Linked DNA regions of Homo sapiens: region 2 is linked to region 1. Evidence: promoter capture Hi-C in 16 types of primary human blood cells and fetal thymus (Javierre and others, 2016). All regions are on one chromosome and are shown on one strand. Each heading gives the region's core, a stretch centred on a gene start or on the middle of the fragment in contact. The rest is flanking DNA. Distances are from core to core; before and after follow the strand shown. Region 1 holds the start of HOXD13 (homeobox D13). Region 2 overlaps HOXD3 (homeobox D3).

Region 1 (3,388 bases), core at 103-2,602:
GTTCGTGAGCTTGATCTAACAAGCTTTAGTAGTCATCTTGGGGCAGTGATGTCTTTGAAAATGGGGGGACCCAACTCTGTCAGGTTTCTTAGGAAAAAGTTCTCTTTAGGAGAAAAGGGAGAGGCCCAAGGAAAGGGCACGCAGAGACTCTCAACTTTAGGAGAAAAACGTGTCTGCGCTGCACACAGGAAAGAAAGGGCAGTGACGGAGGCAGTTGAAATCAGAGGAGGAATTTACAGATTTCACACGAACTGGACAAATTTCCACTGGGTTAACCCTGGTCACGTGTGGAGCACAGGCACAACTCCCACTCCCAAGTAGGGGCGCATACTCTTAGTCCTTTCTTTTCTCCTTCTCTCTCCCCCTCCCTCGTGTCGGTCCCTTTTCTCCATCGCCCCTACCTGGAAAGGAAGATTTCCAAAAGTGGGACCCCTGTGGCTGGTCCTTGGTGCAGTACACCTGGCTGTTCCACCCGTTAGCCAGCGTCCAGGACTGGTACCCCTCCATGGAGATGTAGGCCTCGTGCCGAGGCTCCCCGGAGCCGAAAGTGGACACCATGTCGATATAGCCGGGCACGTGCTGGTAAGGGCTCGTATAGCCCTGGTAGAAGGATACCTCCTTGGCTCGCGCTGGCACCTCGTTGGCCGGTACGCTGCTGCTCGCCAGGCCTGACACGTCCATGTACTTCTCCACGGGAAAGCCTCCCAGCGAGGCGTGCGGCGATGACTTGAGCGCATTCTGCTGTAAGCCCACGCCGTGCGACATACGGCAGCTGTAGTAGCCGTTGCCGAAGTGGTAGCCGTAGCCCAGCGCTGGAGCGCTCGGGGGCGCTGCAGCGGCCGCTGCAGGCGTGGGTGCTGGGCACTCTTTGGCTGGGGGAGCCTCCGGGCGCGCCGCTACAACGGCAGAAGAGGACGACGACGAGGAAGAGCCCGTGCGCTCAGAGGTCCCGGGGTACGCAAAGCCGGAGGCTGCCGCCGCCGCCGCCGCAGCCGCCGCTGCCGCCGCCGCCGCCCGCCCCGAATGCGTCCCGGCGAACACAGGCGCGGAGAGAAAGCCGCGGCACTGGCCTGACGCCGCCGCCGCCGCCACCGATGAGGAGGAGGAAGAGGCCGGGGCGCCACCGGCGCCCCCGCCGTCTGCCCGCAGCCCGTCCATGTCCCAGCTCCCGGCGCGGCTCATGGCCCGGCCTGGCCCGGCCCCGGCCCTGGCCCTGGCCCCGCGCAGGACACCATGGCGCGGCGCGCCTCCTCCCTCCTCTCCTTTCTCTCTGGTTCGCTCGCTCCCGCCCTCTTCCTCTAGCCCTCTCTCCCTCTGTGAGCCTCCCGCCTCCGGCCCGCCTGCCCTCCAACAGGTTAGCTCATCGCGGGACGTTTATAAAAACGAAGTTCAGGTTGGGAGGGGGCCTGGGCCGGTCGGGGGGCCGCCTCCCGCCCCGAGGGCCCCCGCCGGGGGCGTGCCATTGGCTGCGCGCGGCCACGTGGGGGTAGGAACGCGGGGGAGCCTGGCTCCCGGCCCAGGCCTGGCTGGACCCACCCACTCCGGCCCCCACCCCTCTCCTGCCCCTTGCAGGGTCCACCTCCCATTCCCGCCCTCCCCCCCGACCCAGGCGTACGCGCTGCAGCCACCCCCACGAGTTGATTGCGCGACGGCCCATCCCAGGCCCTGTCTGCGACTGAGGCGGGCGCCAAGGCCTGCGCCTTGTCTCGGCAACCGCTGTTTTTGCCACCTCTCCTCGGCTCCCCGAGTTGCACAGCAAAATGAAGACGAAGGACAGAGATGATCAGAATGATGTGAAAACAGGCCCATTTTTTTATCCTGTTGCTGAATCCCTCAGTTAGTCGACTTCTAGACCCCAAATCCGAGTGAGCTAATTTGCCCTACCTTGTGCACTGGTACCCGGCAAAGGCATTTCACACAGGTAAGAGGCATTGGAGCAGACCCTTCCTATACACACACGCTGTCCGTTCGGAAAATGCCCATGAAGCGCCCTTGGGGCTGGCGGCAGAGACTTAAACAGATGAAAGACAGGCATCGGCGCAGTGAGCCTGACAATCTGTCCCAGAAAGAAAAGTCCATGGATGCCTACTCAACGCTCTTCGCCTCTACTCTTGGGCCAGCCGGGAGTGCTTCCGACCTGGGCCTCTCAGCTCCCGCGGGTCCTTCTTCGACCCGCAGAAAGACCCTGAGAACGGCGCCGGGGGAGAAAGCCACTCAGCCTCCCACCGTGAAACTTCTGTGTCTCTCCAGCAGCCGACCGGCCTCGCATTTTGCAGTCACCACCCACTCCCGCCCGTTTCTCACACCAAATTAATTGAAAACTTCACTTTCCCAGGGACCTTTGTTTCGCTTCCTTTTCCAAGCTGTCAACTGCAGAGAACTGAGAGGGGCAAATTAAGAGGGCGCTTGTTCCAAGCAAATTCGGATTTTGTGATAGGAGCAGCCCAGAGAAACGGTCTGACTTCAAGGGGTTAGGTGGGCTCAGGGCAGTGCTGGTGGGGCTAGGTCCAGCTCTGGAACCAAGCTGCCAGGGTGTTAGGGATTACAGCCCTGTCCCTCATCATCCCTTTCTGTTGCTCCTCAGCCTCAGAGCTCCAGCCCACCATCCCTCAATCTCAGCAACTAATGGGGCACCAATGAGAGTCCTGCTGTGACTTTGGGGCTCTGCCTTAGGAACAATATTAGATCCAATGAGCCCAGGGTTCTGGGGGTGGATATGGGATCCTTCAGAGCCCATTTGGTTCTGTGGCATGCACTCCCCAAGCCAGCCCATCTCCAAGAAAATCACTCCCCTAAGCCTGTGATTGGTGAAAGCTTGTCACCCAGCACCACTGTTCCCCGACCAAAGATGCCCTGAGTAAGATGAGGAAGAGAGCCAGGAAGGCCCTCCTTGGCCTGGCCTGGCATTTCAGGGTAGGCTGCTGGTGTTAGGAGTGTTGACATGCAAAACGCAGTAACCATAAAAGGCTCAAATAAAGGGGAAAGTTATGAGAGGGGTGTTGGAAAGGAAAAGCAAGAGAATTCGTTTCATCGTTTTGAAGTTCTAGACATGTTCATGATCAAATTTGAGATGGGAGGGGCCTGAATTTACAGGAAATCATAGGGAATAGAAGTTTGCTGATGAGAAAATTTTTTTCACTATTTGGGAAAAGAAGGCAAAAGTCAGCAATGAAAGTTCAACCAGCATTTTAAAAAGGCCAACTGTGGCGAGGCGACAGGATTGCTAACTTTTAAAGAGGGTTTGGCTGGGTCTTTATGAAACAATTTTGGTACCAAACCACCAACCATGGGCCACCATGAAATGCTTTTATTTTCCCTTTGTCTCATTTTTTCTTCCTCAGACAGAGAAAACATGAAGATAGTTTTAACTTTTTATGACTCCAAAAAA
Region 2 (2,940 bases), core at 383-2,882, 76 kb before region 1:
CCCAGAAAACATCAGGCAAACCAGATCCCTGATAGCAAGCCACACCCCAGGCCCCAAACTTGCCCTGGACCTGGAAGCAAGTTCATCTACCTGAAGATAAACCACATCAGATACCACAAGGTCAGAAAATTTCAGGAACCAAGCAGTCTAAGCAGAGAGAAGGAACAGCCCTCAGAGTTCCTGGCCATGCCTATCTTCTACATGCCCTGGGTGGACCTAGAGAAGGCCCCAACTGGAGGGGCTCCCCTTCCAGTTAGAGAAATCCAAGGCTGTTACTGTCTCCCAGAATATCCTCTCCTACTAGGACAGGCACCTCCCCATTATGGATTTGCTGGAGTGGGAGAATTGGGCTGAGGTGGGCCAAATAGAGACTCATGGTTATGCTTAGCAGCCCCTAAAGCCAGACTGACTGGATTCAAATCCACCACTTTGCAGTTTCAGAATCTTGGGCAAGTTGCCTATCCTCTCTAACAGTTTTCTTATCTGTAAAATGGGGATGTTATCATATACCTACCTCAAAAGGTTCTTTGAAAAATTAAATTAGATAATGCTTAGAAAGTACTTAGTATGGTACTTTCTAAGACTTTAGTTTTTATGAGTTTAAGGGAATGAGATTCGTGTGATATGGGCTATATAATCACCTAGGCTTGGGGATTGTAATACCTATCTTCAAATCTTGAAGAGCTGTTGGGTGGAAGAGGGAATGGAGTTATAATTAGCAGCCCAGGAAAACAGATATGCCCATATAAGGAAGCACTCTCTATTAATAGCTATAAGACCTGTCCAGCAACAGCACCAGCAGCCTGGAATGGAAGGGAGCACCCTGTCACTGCAAGGTCATGACCCCAATCAGGAACACTAAAAAAAAGAACATTTTGACGTGAGTAGGAGTTTAGACATATGACCTCCAAGGTTGCATTTCCAGCCCTGACTAGGCTTCCTTGGGTCAATCTGGAGGGGGCTTGGTCTGGCAGTAGGCCACCTCAGGGAGCTACCTGCAGTGGCACAGCTGTTCTTCTGCTTGGAGTTCTGTCGAGACTCTTTCATCCAGGGGAAGATCTGCTTGCTGATGGTGGCTGAGGAGCTAGAAGCATTGGGCCCACCTTTGGGCTTCTTGGCAGGCACTCCACCTCCAGGATTGGTGGGTGAAGATGGGGGCAGGGTCGGTGGTGGAGGAGGGGGTTGTGGTGGCTGCTGCTCTGAGTTCAGACCAGGAGGCTGGCTGCCACCACCCCCACCCTGGCTGTTCCCAGTGCCCGGCCGCATGCAGCTGCCATTGAGTTCAGCTCCTTTGTGGGCTGGGGCTCTCAGAGGGGCAGAGCTCTGGATGGAGCAGGCAGAACCTGGATAGTCAGTGTCCAGGGAGCTGGCAGCAGCAGGGGGTGGGTAGGGCTGGTGGGGGGTGCTGTAGCCGTAAGTGTCCGTAGTTTTGCTGTAGCCATAGCCTCCAAACAGTCCTGGGTTTTCATAGTAAGCAGCCTTCTGCATTGTGCACTCAGGAAGCTCCAGGGCCTGCTGACCCTGCTCAAATAACATTGACTACCACTGTATCCTTCACTGCCACCTCCAATGTCTGCTGAATCCTGAGAGAGCTGGGCCGGCCCCCAGGCTCCAGGTGACCTGTCAGAAGAAAAGCAAGAGGCCCCAGAGGGAGTGTCATTGGCAAGACCAGTCAATATAGAAGGACTAGCCCATGCTCTCTGCTTCCTACCCACTTCACGGCGGGGAGATGGGCAAGGTGCTGGATCTGAGTTTATTTACTTATCTATTTATTTATTAATACAGTGTCTTGCTTGTTGCCCAGGCTGGAGTGCAGTGGCATGAACATGGCTCACTGCAGCCTCAATTTACTGGGCTCAAGCGATCCTCCCACTTTAGCCTGGTATTAATAGCTATTTCAGAGTATTTCAAAGTCCCAGCTATTCTGCAGTATTAATAGCTATTTCAGAGTATTTCAAAGTCCCAGCTATTCTGCAGTATTAATAGCTATTTCAGAGTATTTCAGAGTCCCAGCTACTCTGCAGTAGCTACAGGTGCCCACCATGCCTGGCTACATGTCTTAGTGTTTTGTTTTGTTTTGTTTTAGATGGAATTTTGCTCCTGTTGCCAAGGCTGGAGTGCAGTGTCATGATCTCAGCTTACTGCAACCTACGCCTCTGGGTTCAAGCAATTCTCCTGCCTCAGCCTCCTGAGTAGCTGGGATTACAGGCACCTGCCACCACACCTGGCTAATTTTTTATATTTTTAGTAGAGACAGGGTTTCACCATGTTGGTCAGGTTGGTCTTGAACTCCTGACCTCAGGTGATCAACCCGCCTGGGCCTCCCTAAGTGCTGGGATTACAGGTGTGAGCCACTGCGCCAGCTCTTAGTTTTTTTTTTTTTTTTTTTGTAGAGACAGGGTCTTACAATGTTGCCCAGGCTGGTCTTGAGTTCCTGGGCTCTTGTGATCCTCCCGTCTTGGCCTCCCAAAGTGCTGGAATTACAGGCATGAGCCACTGCGCCTGGCAGATTTTATGAAGTTCAACTTATTTGAACCTCTGGAAGTATCAGAAGGAATTTTTCCTAAATGTAAGAAGAGTTTCCTTCTTTTTAGCTCAACTGTAGCTGAGGGAAAGGGCTTCCCTCTACCTCCAGATACAATTTACTTTCTTCAAGATTGTCCATTTAGCCTTTCTTCTGTGTGGAAAAGTACTTATAGCCTCAGACATTTTGTTGGCTGATTCGCCCACTAAACTGTAAGCTCCTTGCAGGCAGGGGCTGTGTCATTTGTCTACTGTTCCTAACATCCAGCACAGTGCCCTGCATGTAGTTAGTGCAATAAATGCTTGTTGAATAGGTGAATTAATAAGTGGATCAATCAGTCAATCATTGGGTCAGCACAAGGTTTTGATGGGAAATGAAAGTCCTATAACATGCTCAGAACAGCCAGAACTTAAAAA

The links. The method cuts DNA at HindIII sites, captures the fragments that hold promoters and counts their contacts. A CHiCAGO score of 5 or more calls a contact.
Region 2: a contact is called between a fragment that was not itself captured here and the fragment with the promoter of HOXD13 in region 1, in 1 of 17 cell types (naive B cells). The highest score is 5.8, in naive B cells.

Annotation. Positions count from the first base shown.
Region 1 is chr2:176,090,685-176,094,072 of GRCh38, reverse strand. It overlaps HOXD13 (homeobox D13), which reads right to left and starts at 1,352. Exons shown (of 2, transcript NM_000523.4): 1 at 402-1,352. The coding sequence starts at 1,182. The HindIII fragment of the contact is 2,791 bases long and covers 26-2,816 here.
Region 2 is chr2:176,167,711-176,170,650 of GRCh38, reverse strand. It overlaps HOXD3 (homeobox D3), which reads right to left. Exons shown (of 4, transcript NM_006898.5): 3 at 996-1,620. The coding sequence starts at 1,536. Among named protein-coding and RNA genes, the nearest start is that of HAGLROS, 9.0 kb to the left of the region's middle. RefSeq lists a silencer at 1-130. The HindIII fragment of the contact is 9,103 bases long and covers 1-2,940 here.